3 separate regions of the Homo sapiens genome follow, and all the other regions are linked to region 1. The links are contacts of gene promoters, found by promoter capture Hi-C in blood cells and fetal thymus (Javierre and others, 2016). All regions are on one chromosome and are shown on one strand. Each heading gives the region's core, a stretch centred on a gene start or on the middle of the fragment in contact. The rest is flanking DNA. Distances are from core to core; before and after follow the strand shown.

What was found. Contacts are between HindIII fragments. The CHiCAGO score rates a contact against its expected background, and 5 or more counts as called.
Region 2: a fragment that was not itself captured here is called in contact with the fragment with the promoter of RTL3 in region 1 in 1 of 17 cell types (total CD8 T cells); the score reaches 5.1 in total CD8 T cells.
Region 3: a fragment that was not itself captured here is called in contact with the fragment with the promoter of RTL3 in region 1 in 1 of 17 cell types (fetal thymus); the score reaches 5.6 in fetal thymus.

Annotation. Positions count from the first base shown.
Region 1 is chrX:78,655,681-78,660,621 of GRCh38, forward strand. RTL3 (retrotransposon Gag like 3) reads right to left here and starts at 3,648. Exons shown (of 2, transcript NM_152694.3): 1 at 3,581-3,648; 2 at 388-2,968. The coding sequence starts at 2,740. The coding sequence ends at 1,313. All of the region lies in intron 1 of LOC107985670 (a long non-coding RNA gene), which reads left to right. The HindIII fragment of the contact is 2,616 bases long and covers 1,989-4,604 here.
Region 2 is chrX:78,919,973-78,924,870 of GRCh38, forward strand. No RefSeq gene overlaps it. Among named protein-coding and RNA genes, the nearest start is that of MIR4328, 21 kb to the left of the region's middle. RefSeq lists an enhancer at 3,824-3,943. The HindIII fragment of the contact is 1,564 bases long and covers 2,266-3,829 here.
Region 3 is chrX:78,988,761-78,993,431 of GRCh38, forward strand. No RefSeq gene overlaps it. Among named protein-coding and RNA genes, the nearest start is that of P2RY10, 46 kb to the left of the region's middle. The HindIII fragment of the contact is 752 bases long and covers 2,741-3,492 here.

The sequences.
Region 1 (4,941 bases), core at 2,398-4,897:
TAGGTTCTGCTTAGACCACTCCTCACACCTCACCTGGAGATTCTACCTCTCAGCACCCCAACCCTCCTCTAAACCCTCTTCAACCTCCTCCCAATCTCCCCCAAACCCTCTTCTCAATCTTACCTCTACCTTTCCCCTAATCCCTCCATACCTCACTTACTTTCAGCCCTAACCATTCCCTACTCTCACTTTCAGCCCTAACCATTCCCTACTCTCTCCATCTTACCCTCTACATCATTTCTCCATCATCTGCAGACCTATCACTACACCCGGAATGTTTAGGAGCCTCCCTAAACATTGAACATTTTCTAATTCCCTCTCTCCCTCCCAATTTACTGGTTCATTATCTCTTCCTCTAGCTAAGCCAAGAAATAACTCAAACACAAGTAGAAATTGCTAATATTTATTGATTCTTTTAAGAAATATCACTTACAAACTTATTTTCTTTATGTAAAAGATGTTGCCATTTTTGTGATATAGAAAATATTGATAAGAAAAAAATCAAGTCAGTTTAACAGCTATGCTTTTTCATTATTAGTTTCTAATATCTATTCTCATGTGTATTGTTAGTATAATTGTAATTAAAACAGTTCCGCAGGATGCAGAGTTCTGAGATAGAGGCATGCAGAGTTAGTGAAAAAAAAAAAAGCAGCTCAAAGTCATCAGGTTCAGTCTATCATCTAAGAGGCAGAGTCGTTGTACAGGTAGCCTTAGTACATAGCAAGATGTTCAGTAGAAGATTCAGGGAGCAGCAAATGCTGATGACAGCTGAGGTAACAGAAGACAGGTTGCCAGGAACAGTCACTAGGACACAGGATCTACCCAGAAATTATTTCATCACGATTTCTTCTATTCCACCTGTGCCTGAAGCAATTGTAGTGACAATAACGTGATAGAAAGGACACAGTGCGGGTACTCCATTCTATGTTTGGGTCATGTGTCTCAAGCCAATGGATTCCAATAATCAGAGGGTATCGTGGTGCATGAATAATGTCAAACTGGAGCTCTTCAACATGGTTTCCAATTTGAACTTGGACAGGTGATGTTTCCTTAGTTATGGGTCCATTAATAAGTGGATGGCCGTCGACAGTTTCCAGCATCAGAGGGAAGATATTACTGCGGATGGGCAGCTTCTCTCGAAGAACCACAGTATGATCAATGCTGTTTCTGTAGGAGCCTGAATCTACCATTGCTTGCTCAAAGAATTATCTTCTTCCCAGTTGGATTTCAACAGTAAGCCATAGTGTATGAGACATGGATATTGGAAGAGAGGGGGACGCATATTTGTAGATTGGCCCACGTGGGGTCCCCCTTACTGGCAGGCCTGGATGTTTCCCGCCTGCAGGGCCTGATGAGGCTTGACAGGGCAATCTCTGGCAAAATGACCAGGATAACCACAGTAGAGGCATAAGCGGCCTTTGTGCCAACGGACCCATTCAGCTTCACTGATGTGTGGGCAGTTGATTGCAGCCTGCATAGGTTGGTTTTCAGCTGGTGGACTCTCGGGTCCATCTCCCTCTGCAGAGGAACTTTTCCCTAATGGATTGGGATCAGGCTTCTCTTCCAGGCTGATGCACTGAGTGATGAGATCAGATAGGTTGGTGGCTGGGCTTGTGTGAGACAGTTCATCTTGTATAGAACTGGCAAGACCTTCTTGAAATTGGATCCAGAGAGTGCTTTCATCCCAGTTCAGCTCTTGAGCAATGAGGTGGAAGTGGGTTGCTACATGACCCTCCCCTTGGCAGAGTTGATGGATGCACTGGTTGGCATCTTTCATGTTTTCTGGATTATCAAAAGTATCCTGGAGCACAGGTATGAAACTTTCACATTGCTCCAGTAAGGGGCTTTGGATATCCAGTAAGAGCTGGAACCACCATCCTGCCCTACCTGAGAAGCAATTGCCAACAAAGCTCACCAGGGCTGCTTCAGTGGGATACAGGTGCCCTCTGACTCTCATGTAACTATACAGCTGAACCAGGAACTCAGGAAGCTTCTGGGAATCTCCACTGAAGGTTAAAGTGTATTGCAGGGGGAAATCTGTAGCCTCTAACCCAATAGGGGCCTGTGGAAACTCTGAAGCTGCTGATGTCTCCACAACTATTAGACCCTCCAGGGACTCCTGGGCTGCTGAGAGTTCTAGGAATTCCTGGGCATTTGAAGGCTCCAGAGGCTCCTGGGGAGGTGGAAGCTCAAGGAACTCTAGCTGTGCTGCAGTTTCCTGGTATTCTGGTGCCTCCTGGGGCTTCTCAATATTTGGGGGATCCTGGGGTTCTGAATTCTTGGGCTCTTGGGCTATTGTGGCATCCTGGGTGTTTGCAGGCCCCTGGCCCTCCAAGACTGTTGGGATCTCATGGGCCATTGGAGGTTTCTGGGACTCCCGGGTTGCTGGAGGCGCCAGGGACTCTGGGGCTGCTGGGGCCTCCTGGAGTTCCCAGGCTGCTGGGGGTTCCCAGGGTAGAAGATCCTGTGGCTCTGGTGGCTTCTGGGGTTCCTTGAACTCTGGGGTCTTTTGGGCCTCCCAGGCTGCTGGGGGATTCATGTGCTCTGGGAGCTTCTGGGGCTCCTTGGCCTCTGAGGACTTTCGGAGTAGATCATACTCCTTGGCTGCTTGGGACTTCTGAAGCTCTGGGATCTGGGCCTGGAGAGCAGCATTTTCTTCCATCAGCCACTGCACTTGAGCCTGCCGAATTTCATTCTCCAATTTCAGAACAATATAGGAGGCTGCTAAGTCCTCCACCATCTTTTGAGGAAATGGGTATGATTTGACAATTTGCTACCAAGAGAGATTGGGTGGGTGTTTGTGAGATCCTTCCTGAAAGCTGCTTACAGGCAGATGTCAGGCTCAGTGAGTTTTCCAAGGGGTGGTATTTGGGCCCCGCCAAGGCTGATTATCAAGAGGTCACTGGGAGCCTCCGGAGCTCGGCAAGAAGGAGCCTCCGGAGCTCAGTAAGGGGAAGTGTCAGATACACTGCGAAGAGAGTGGGAGCTGAGGATCAGAAACTGTGGAAAGCACACATTCAACATAAAACAAAATCTGCCCAACAATGCTGGGTTTCTTTTACCATAGGCTTATGTTCATGAGCTGGGGTATATATGCTGGATCTGACTCCACGACATTTTAAGAACAGCATCTGTCCCAAACTGCACATGTCATTTTGCATTTATCCTTTGAAACTTAACATTATATCAAAAGCAACTTTTTAATATTATTTTCTGTTTTATATAGTCTTTAATCTTGAATATCTGCCTAATATCCCAATGTAACATTTGGATTTTAACAGCTGCTTTCAGTGACTAAATCAAATGTTTGAGCAATGTGGGAATTTTAGGCTCTGCGGTGGGCCAGCCCAAGAGATATTTTTGGGTGACTAGGGTGGTAGGAAGTAGGAGGGAGCTCTTTCTGACACCTCAGAAATCATACCACATAAGTAACCACACAAGACCAGCCTCAGGAGAAAACAAGCAAAAGTCGACTAAATATATATATATATATATATATATGCCCTCAGAAGACACATGCATATTATTTATAAAATACCTCAAAATAGTTAAGAAAATAATCTTTATAAATGTACGTTACCATTCAGAGACTTAGTCCAGGAGCTTGGCTGTCTGTGTACCCATTGCTGAGGAGGGAAATGTGTAAATGGCTGTGGAGGCTTGCCTTTTCTGCACACACTGAACTCAAGCAAACACACCCACTCCCAGAACACATTCCAACTTTCCTCTGTAACATAGCTTTTTAAAGTGTGGAAGAGTTTTTTGACAGTACCTCACAGTTCAGAGCTGCAAGGAAAGTAGGATGCTGTGCTGATGTGAAGCAGCTTCATGTACTCAGTCCTTGGTTACTTTAATGAATATTTGGCCAGGAAATTGTGAGTAATACCACTGCCCTTGTGAAAAGTTGCAAACATTTTTGAATGACCACAGTGGTTTGGGATGTGATTTTTTATGTCTGTCTCATCTAACCTATTCTTACTCTGTCCAAATTGGGCCATTTGTTTACTTCTCACTCAGGGAACAGCCTGCAAACCCTCAGCCCCTTCCCTTGCTTACTACCTATTCAGTCCCTAGGGTTTTTCCTTGCAATGTTTTCTTGGAAAATTTGCCACAGACAGATCTAGAAAAGGTATAAAAGGGTACAAATGTCAGGGAGACCAATTGTGTTGGTGGGTACTTATAGCAGTCTTACAGAGTCCCTGGCTCTTTCTGAATGTCCTGGACCAAAGATCTCATGCTTCCCTGAACTGATCAGGTGCTCCAGGTAGCACTCAGGACATTCACTAAAGACTGGCCTCTTGGGAAGTAACCCTGCTCAGAATCTCACTTTCTCTTCTCATGCCAGATCACAGTTATGCCTTGGGTATGGGCTATGTGGCCATTTTAGGCAAGGCTTAGGGGCAACTATTTTTATCCAAGTAAGGAGTGGGGTTGAGGTTTGCATTTGGCCATTTCAAATCACACATCATGTCAACCACAGTCCCATGTCTCCTTCACAAATGGTCAGTTCTGCATTAGTCAGCATAATGGGATAAACCCTAGTGATGGAATAGGCCCAAAACATAGCAAATTGACAGACTGGGCTACCTGAATCCGAATGCAGAAGCTTTGAAAGTAAAAACAAAATCTTTTGCAAATCGAGTTTATTCTTTCCTTACCTTTCAAAGTTTTATTTTTCTAGAAACACCACACATATAAAAATACCACCATCATCAGGGATGATGTGATCTATTTATGTGAAGTTTTCAGATAACTGAAGCCTTCCTGCCCTCCAAGAAGCCAAAACACACAGTTAACATTTATTTTATCCAGAAAGAAAAGAGAACTTCCAACACCTGAATTTGTAACGGGCTTAGTTAGGGAACAACTATTAATTGAAACTCTTTCCTAATGTTTAGCAATTTCTGTAACAATGAGTTTGAAGGTTCAATACTGGACATC
Region 2 (4,898 bases), core at 1,798-4,297, 260 kb after region 1:
TTATATGTGCTGGTTTAATTGTTTTTATTTGGTGTTTGAGGAATGACGTTTTATTTCCATTAACATAATCAAATATTTGATAGTATGTATATACACACACTCAAATGATGACTTCTTCTGCAATTATCCCTGAGTTCGAACCTACTGCTGTTATCTTTTAACCTAACTAACTGAAAGTAAGTCTCTGCAGACCTCTGAGATAGATAATTCACATGTCAAAAATTGAGGAAAAACTCAGCAGATTATCTGAAATTATTTCAAAAGTAGTGTAACCATGAAACAGGGCAGGCTGCAACTTCACCCGTTTCCTATGAGATTGGTTTCCCTATGATGCATAGAGCTGGGTCATGGCAGATTCTCAGTAAAGACTTAGGTAATTGACAAATAATGGAAGGAAATTGACACAGCTAGTTCAAGAATCTAAGTTACCTCAAAGAGGGTGAATGGAGGTCATTTCCAGAGGCAATTTGGGGGTTATTGTTCTGCAGAAATTCATGAGTTGGCCTACATCCTCTCCTCTAGAGACAAGTGGCCCTATGGGCCTAAGTATTCCAATTACTATTTCTTCAGTACATTGTACTTTCTGGCAGTATTAGGTATACTTTTGAAATGGCCATGTGTACTGAGACACATCATAACAGATCTATAATGTGTTACTTCATCTGTTTCCTGGATCAACCTTTCCTTTTGAACGTACATGTTATAAGCTCTTCTAATGAATATATTTTAAATTTTATCTCTCCGCAAAAGAGTTGATGGAAAAACTTAAGCTCTAGCACAAATAAGGTGCTCCAGCACAAATAAAGTGACCTTGTCAGATACATCAAATTTGAGCAGCAAATGTTCACAACTGGGAATTTAGTTTAATTTTCTTGTTAATAACCAGAGTACTTACTCACACAACCTCATAAGTTACCCAAAGAGATCATGGTTTTCCACCTTTTCCCAGTTAATTTGAAAAGTTAATATTTACTGAAGGCTCTTCATATCTGATAGTAGGTTAATGCTAGCTGAGCCTAAGGAATTATCCCATGGTCTTCATATGTGACAAGTTGCCAGTCTTTATGAATACAGTCAGAAAAGTGGAAGCCTCTCAAGCTACAAGTTCTGCTATTTCTTTTATCAAGAAGTTTCTATCTGTCTCCTCTGATTTATTCTCAATCTCTCCACTATAATTTAGTACCCTGTTTCCTCTTGAATCGACTATTCTAGTGGTTTTTCTAATCTATCTTCCATATCGTCTCCTTATCAATCATTCGGTATATCCTTGTTTCCATAATTATTTTTTCCCTAAAACACCGCTACTTTCAAGTTGTCATCTGTGCAAAAACCCATAGACTAATAGGTATTTATTACCTTTTGGGTAAAGTCCAAACTTGGTCGGGCATTCTAGATCCTCCTTCACAATCAGGCCCCAAACCAAAACCTGTTACTCATTGTTATCTTTTATGGAACTCCTACAGTGAGAATATTTGAATCTTTGTTTCCCTCAAACATCATTAATATTCTTAATAACTTGAAATTATTTGTGTTGTTTTATTTCTTCTTTCACTCATGCTGCTTTGGTAAATATTAATTTACTTTTAATATGTTAAAATCCTGTCACTGATCTGAATGCTGTCAATATAAAGACCAATACATTAATGTTAATTAAGTAAATCAAGGAACAAAGGTTGCTGGATAAATGAATTGATCTCACCAAATGTTCTGAGAACAAGTGAGAAAAAGTATATTGCCACTGAATTTCAAATGAAATAATGACATTTAGTTAAGACCTAGAATGTGTAATCAGCCATGATCCTAGGAACAATGTGAAGGCCTTGAGTTGAAATCCTACTGTTTTCTTTAATTCTCCTTCTGTTTCTGCATAAATACATTAACTTTGAGACTGAGTTTAACTTTAGAGCCTTTTTTCTTTTTTTTTAATTTTATTATTATTATACTTTAAGTTTTAGGGTACATGTGCCTTTTTTCTTATCTGCAATGTCAATAGCTCTCAAGCTCTTACAATGAAGGAGCTATTTTAGCAACATGTCTAGCAATGGAGTCAGTGAAAGGAGATGAATACAATACTTGTTTCGATTTTTCTATTTTTTTCTCTATTTTAAATTTCCATTAGCAGATCACCATTTGATTGGGTTTTGTTGATGGAAGAGAAGGTCTGAGTTTCCTGGACACAGTGGAGTAGAATATACTCTCTCAATCTCTATGGCTGAAATTTATGTCCTTTCCTATATAATCATGTTAGCTGATACGGTGACGGAAAGCTTTCCACATGGAGTAATTTTAGGCCACACAGAATAAAGCCCCTTTTTTTGCAGTGCTCTACCACATTCACCTCAGAGGTTTGGATTTTAAAAATTCTTGTGTAGTTGAGGTGGGATCAGAGAGCCCTCTGTCATGTTTCATGGGGCCTTGATCTCCAGGATGGCATTTGGCAATAGAGAGCCCACGAATATTTTCTATGGGCATTAGGTGGGAGTATATTTAGCTCTTATCTACAGACTAATGTGAATGACAATGGAAAAGTTTCCACAGGGATAAGCCTCACGAGTTGCCCATGAGGACAAAACTTTTATGGTCTAGTAGCATTTCCTCAGGTATTGCACCACATAGAACTCATGGGACCTGAATCACCAACCTTATTACCCAGAAATCAACTGGTCCCAATATCAGAAAGCCAAGTAGGGCACAGATAAGCAGAAAGTTACCTGCTTTATCTTTCCACCTTTCACTTCTTTACTATCCCCCTCTTCTTGTCATTATTATAATTACTATTATTAGTATTGTTTGTAAATCCATTTCTCTCTTCCACTCTTCTCATTTCCTTTATGTTTGTCAAGTATGCATTTTTTCAAAGTTTATGCACTCTTCTCTATCAGCACAGAATCCCCTAACATATTCTTCAACAAAGTGTCACTAGTGTCACTGATAATTTATACCCTCTTGAACACAACAGCCAGGAAGCCCTAACCTCAGAGATGTGTCAGCTCAACTTCGTTTTGTGCCAAAATGCCAAACCCAAGCCTCATTTAGGTGATGGGTGAGTTCAGTGGCTCTCTACTCACCCCTTTCCTCTTACACATAAATAAATTCCAGTGGGAGGAAAATAATTTCATAGGATCTTAATGTCATTATAAATACCACTTTTAGTTCAGCAAAGGAGAAAACATGAAAAGGGAGTGGATTACTCAACAACTTGGTTGATGTGAGCTTCAGAAGTATTTTTTTAGTTTTTTGAGAAAATAAATATATGTAAAACAAATATTCAAACACGGAGAAAATTTTCTCTCAGCATGGACTAGAAAACATAAAACTCTAATATTTCTAATGGGAGAAGTGAGAAATTGGTTTCTGAAACACTAAAGTTGTTTTGAAGCAACTGATACTTCCTTCTATTTATAGCTTACCAAAGCCCAGTATACATTGGTGAATGAGATTAGGGAGCAAAGTTGTACAGTTTAAGAGGGTATCCTAAAAAAACAAACAACAACAAAAAACCTCATTTCTCATAGTTTTCTGAAGAAAGTTAAATAAGCGCCCAGCATGAAAGCAAAGTCCAGCTCATAAGCTGATTTTGGACAGTGCTGACTCAGTAACACTCTTCTCTGAGATCTCTTTTCCTTGCCTACTTTGCTCCTTCATGAGAGTTTTGTTACCACTGACCTCCTTCTGACTCCCCCCACTTCATGTTAGCTTTGGACTGGCCAAGTAGCTTTGATTCTCCTGGAAAGCTGATTCAACTCACTGTCCAGTCCAGCACCTGACCTTCATTAGGCAGTCATTTCTGTCTTGAGACCATGCTGAGGAACTTCCCTGCACTGGTCTAAGCTTTATTTACACTTTGGAAACCACCTAAAGACTTAGCTCTGGGAGAAGATCTTCTTAAAGTTCAATACTGAAAGAAAACCTGTAAAGTGCTCTTTCATTTTTTAGTGAAATGTCTTTCCATTTCCCAGCTGCTGATTCATAGTGACACAGCATCGTTTGCTCTTCAGCTTGTATTTTCTCTTAGCATGGCCCCAGAGGCTAGTAGCCCAGCTCATAACCAGTGCCACAAAGAAAGAAGGGAATGGAATTTTACTAAACCAAAATAAAAAGATGTTTTTGGCAGTATGGTCAATTTTCACAATATTGATTGTACCCATCCATGAACATGAGATGTGTTTCCATTTGTTTGTGCCATCTATAATTTCTTTCAGCAGTGTTTTTTTTTTCTAGAGGTCTTTCACCTCCTTTATTAGGTATAGTCCTAAGTATTTTATTATTTTTTTGCAGCTATTTTAAAAGGGATTGAGTTCTTTATTTGATTCTCAGCTAGCTTGTTGTTGGTTTATAGAAGAGCTATTGATTTGTGTACATAAATTTTGTATCCGGAAACTCTGCTGAATTTTTTTTTTTTTTTTTTTTTGAGACGGAGACTCACTCTGTCGCCCAGGCTGGAGTGCAGTGGCGCGATCTCGGTCCACTGCAAGCTCCGCCTCCCGGGTTCACGTCATTCTCCTGCCTCAGCCTCCTGAGTAGCTGGGACTACAGGTGCCCGCCACTATGCCCGGCTAATTTTTTGTATTTTTAGTAGAGACGGAGTTTCACTGTGTTAGCCAGGATGGTCTCGATCTCCTGACCTTGTGATCCGCCCGTCTCAGCCTCCCAAAGTGCTGGGATTACAGGCGTGAGCGACCACGCCTGGCCTCTGCTGAATTTTTTTTTTTTTTTTTTATCAGTTGTAGGAGCTTTTTGGAGGAGTCTTTAGGGTTTTCTAGGTAAGTGATCATGTCATCAGCAAACAGCAACAGTTTGACTTCCTCTTTACCGATTTGGATGCCCTTTATTTCTTTCTCTTGTCTGATTGCTCTGGCTAGGACTTCCAGTACTATGTTGAAGAGGAGTGGTGAGGG
Region 3 (4,671 bases), core at 1,867-4,366, 330 kb after region 1:
CATGCCTTTTACCTTCTGCCATAATTGTGAGTCCTCCCCAGTCATGTGGAAATGTAAGTCGATTAAACCTTTTTCTTTTGTGAATTGCCCAGTCTCAGGTATGTCTTTATCAGCAGTGTGAAAAAGGATTAATACGGTAAGTTGGTACCAGTAGAGTGGGGTGCTCCTGAAAAGATACCTGAAAATGTGGAAGTTACTTTGGAACTGGGTAACAGGTTGGAACAGTTTGGAGGGCTCAGAAAAAGTCAGCAAAATGTAGAAAAATTTGGAACTCCCTAAAGACTTGTTGAATGGCTTTGACAAAAATGCTGATAATTACACGTACAGTGAAATCCAGGCTGAGGTGGTCTCAGATGGAGATGAGGAACTTGTTGGGAACTGGAGCAAAGGTGACTCTTGTTATGTTTTAGCAAAGAGACTGGTGGCATTTTACCCCTGCCCTAGAGATTTGTGGAACTTTGAACTTGAGAGAGATGATTTAGTGTATCTCTTGGAAGAAATTTCTAAGCAGCAAAGCATTCAAGAAGTGGCTTGGATGCTGTTAAAGGCATTCAGTTTTAAAAGGGAAACAGCATAAAACTTTGGAAAATTTAGAGCCTGACAATGTGACAAAAAAGGAAATCTCATTTTCTGAGGACAAATGCAAACCCACTGCAGAAATTTGCATAACTAACAAGGAGCCAAATATTAATCACCAAGACAATGGGGAAAATATCTCCAGGGCATTTCAGAGGTCTTAACTGCAGTCCCTCCCATCACAGGCCCAGAGGCCTAGAAGGAAAAAATGGTTTTGAGGTCCAGGCCCAGGGTCCATGTGCTGTGTGTAGCCTAGGGACTTAGTGACCTGCATCCCAGCTCCAGTCATGCCTAAGAGGGGCCAATGTAGAACTTGGGCCATGGCTTCAGAGGGTGCAAGCCCCAAGCCTTAGCACCTTCAATGTGACAATGAGCCTGTGAGTGCAGAGAAGTCGAGAATTGGGTTTTGGGAACCTCCACCTGAATTTCAGAGGATGTATGGAAACACATGGATGTCCAGGCAGAAGTTAGCATCAAGGGCAGGGCCGTCATGGATAACGTCTGGTTGGACAGTATGGAAGGAAAACATGGGATCAGAGCTCCCACACAGAGTTCCTACTGGGGCACCACCTAGTGGAGCTGTAAAAAGAAGATCACCATCCTCCACTCCCAAGAATGGTAGATCTACTGACAGCTTGTACTGTGAACATGGAAAAGCTGCAGATACTCAATGCCAGTTTGTAAAATCAGCCAGGAGGGAGGCTGAACCTTGCAAAGCCACAGAGGCTGTCCTGTCCAAGGTCACAGGAACCCACCTCTTGCATCACCATGACCTGGATGTAAGACATGGAGTCAAAAGAGATAATTTTGCAGCTTTAAGATTTGACTGCCCCACTGGATTTTGCACTTGCATGGGGCGTGTGGCCTCTTTTTTTCTGGCCCATTGCTCCCATTTGGAATGGCTGTATTTACCCAGTGCCTGTACCCCCATTGTATCTAGAAAGCTACTAACTTGCTTTTGATTTTACAGGCTCATAGACTGAAGTGACTTTCTTTGTCTCAGATAAGACTTTGGGCTGTAGACTTTTGAGTTAAAGTTAAAATGAGTTAAGACTTTGGGGGACTCTTGGGAAGGCATGATTGGTTTCAAAATGTGAGGACATGAGATTTGGGAAGGGCCAGGGATGGAATGACATGGTTTGGCTGTGTCCTCAATCAAATATCGTCTTGAATTTCCACATGTTGTGGGAGAGACCCAGTGGGAGGTAATTGAATTATGGCAGCAGGTCTTTCCTGTGCTGTTCTTGTAATAGTGAATAAGTCTCATTAATTCTGATGGTTTTAAAAGGGGAGTTTCTCTGCAGATACTCTCTTCTCATCTGCCACCATCTGTGATATGCCTTTCACCTTCTGACATGATTGTGAGGCCTCCCCAGCCATGTGGAACTGTGTCCATTAAACCTCTTTATTTTATATATTGCCCAGTCTCGGGTATGCCTTTATCAACAGCATGAAAATGGACTAATACACACCCTCACATACACACCCAGAAATAATCTATTACCAGCACTCTGGGCATTCTCTTAACCCAGTGATGTTGACAAAGAAAATTAACCATCAAAATTCCACCACTTGTCAACTTGACATGCATACACAGCTCCTTCAACTATACTTAATCTCCAAATAAAGACAATAATAAAGAAATAACTCTGCTTAACGTAATACAACTGTTCTGTGTACAAACAAAAATACATTAATTCCTACCCTCAGAGTGGAGGTAAAGTCTTTCAGTGATGTGTATTTTTTCCTGATTTTCTGTAACTTAAATATTACAATGTAAAATTAACAATACTTAAATATTGATATAGTCAATACATTTAAAGTTATTTGATAAGGGAAAGAAAAAAATTGCTCAAAATATGTATTTTCATATGTTAAATGTGTATGTGTGTGTAATAATTCACATCCACACACGAATGTCATTCATTACAAAATGAGAAAAACATGCTCATGACAATTACAGTCCTTATTTCTGTAACTGGTTACATGGTAGTAGCTAGTATTTATAACTACTTTGTTCTGCTGTCCATCCTGTATTACCTTTCCCTTTGGCAAGCACTTATGCTATTTGTGGTTCTTTATCTGGTAGGATAACCCAAACCTTCATTTCTGGCTGCCGTTTTCATGAGTCCACTCAGCAATGACAGAGTTGTCTGGCAAAACAAGCTTACTGGTATCTATAGAATGCATCATTCTATCCACTTGATTAGTTAAATCCTTCTCTGCTGGGTTCATCCTTTGGAAACACTCACACAGGACACAAATATCTTCATAATTTTTTATCATTCAGAGATATTTATCCCTATGTCTTCTCCTCAAATTTTTTTTGGTCACCAATTCTCCAATTATGTTTCTTTCTGCTTCCTGTCCATCCACTCAAACGATTGGCTACAGATGATAAATTGTTATATAATTGCATTTCTAGCCATTTTGCCTTCTAAGCAAGAAGCACAACCAGGTGCAGCACTCAACGTTTTGCCCATTGGGAAAATTTACCTTTACCAGTGTCCTTCAGTGATGTCTCATAGAAGTTCTGTAGTTACAGTTTTGAGTGATGCCTTCAAAATATATTGTGCCTAAAAACTAATTCTTGTTGACAAGTCTTAATCAGCATAATGACATTAATCTAAATAACTAGCATGATATTTTGTGGAAAGAGACAGTCTAGATTTCTCTTAACTACATTATGATATAGAGTTGGAGAGTTGATATACCTCTGAGGTAGAACAGTGAAGGTATACTCTTGGCCTTGCTAGATAAAAGCAAATTGCTTCTGGTGGGCCTTGTAAATAGGATGGAGAAAAAGGTATTCGCCAGCTAAATAGCTGCATATCAGGTACCAGGGATGGGTCTACTTGCTCAAGCAACAAAACCACATCAGGTGCAGCCCCTGCAATTGGAGTCATCACTTGGCTAAGCTTACAGTAATCTATGGTCATCCTCCAATATCCATCTCTCTTCTTCACAGTCCAAATAGAAGAGTTGAATTGGGATGTGGTGGGAATCACCACCCCTACATCTTTCAAGTCCTTGATGGTAGCCCTAGTATCTGCAATGCCTCAAGAAATGCAGTATTGCTTTTAATTTACTATTTTCCTGGATAAAGGCAGTTTCCTAGATAATGGCTTGCATTTGACCTTTTCTACTATACTATCCCTTACTTTATAGGTCAAGAAACCAATGTGGAAATTCTGCTATTTGCTAAATATGTCTATTCCAATTATGCATTCTGGAATTAGGAAATAACTGCAGAATGGGTTAAGGGACCCAACGGGTCCACTGTAAGATAGACCTGAACTAAAGGTTCCATTGATTTTCTGGCCTCTGTAAGCTGTTACTCTAACTGGGGGGTCACAGTTACCTTTAAGGGTCTCCTAGAATCAATGTAAGTTCAGAGCAAGGATCTGGAGTCTCAATAAAACCTGATTATTTTTCTTTTTTTCTAATGCACAGTTACCCTTTGGGGAACGCTGAGAAAGATATGAATAATATAAATTTTCAGTGGTGCACCAAGGTCCTTCCTCAAGAAAATCTAGCGTCCCTTTCACTTAAGGGATAGTGGGTTTGCAAATAGGCTCAACTCTGGAAATTGATTGAGGGGCCATGACTCTGTTTACATGATTTATGATATACTTATTCATTTGGTCTGGAACTTTTTTTGTTTATGCAAATTAAGTATGAATTTAGTAAGCTTTCTATTTTGCTTCTTTTTTTATTTTATTTTATTATTATTATACTCTAAGTTTTAGGGTACATGTGCACAAGGTGCAGGTTAGTTACATATGCATACATGTGCCATGCTGGTGTGCTGCATCCATTAACTCGTCATTTAGCATTAGGTATATCTCCTAATGCTATCCCTCCCCCGTCCCCCCACCCCACAACAGTCCGCATAGTGTGATGTTCCCCTTCTTGTGTCCATGTGTTCTCATTGTTCAATTCCCACCTATGAGTGAGAACATGCGGTGTTTGGTTTTTTGTCCTTGCGATAGTTTACTGAGAATGATGATTTCCAATTTCATCCATGTCCCTACAAACGACATGAACTCATCATTTTTTATGGCTGCATAGTATTCCATGGTGTATATGTGCCAC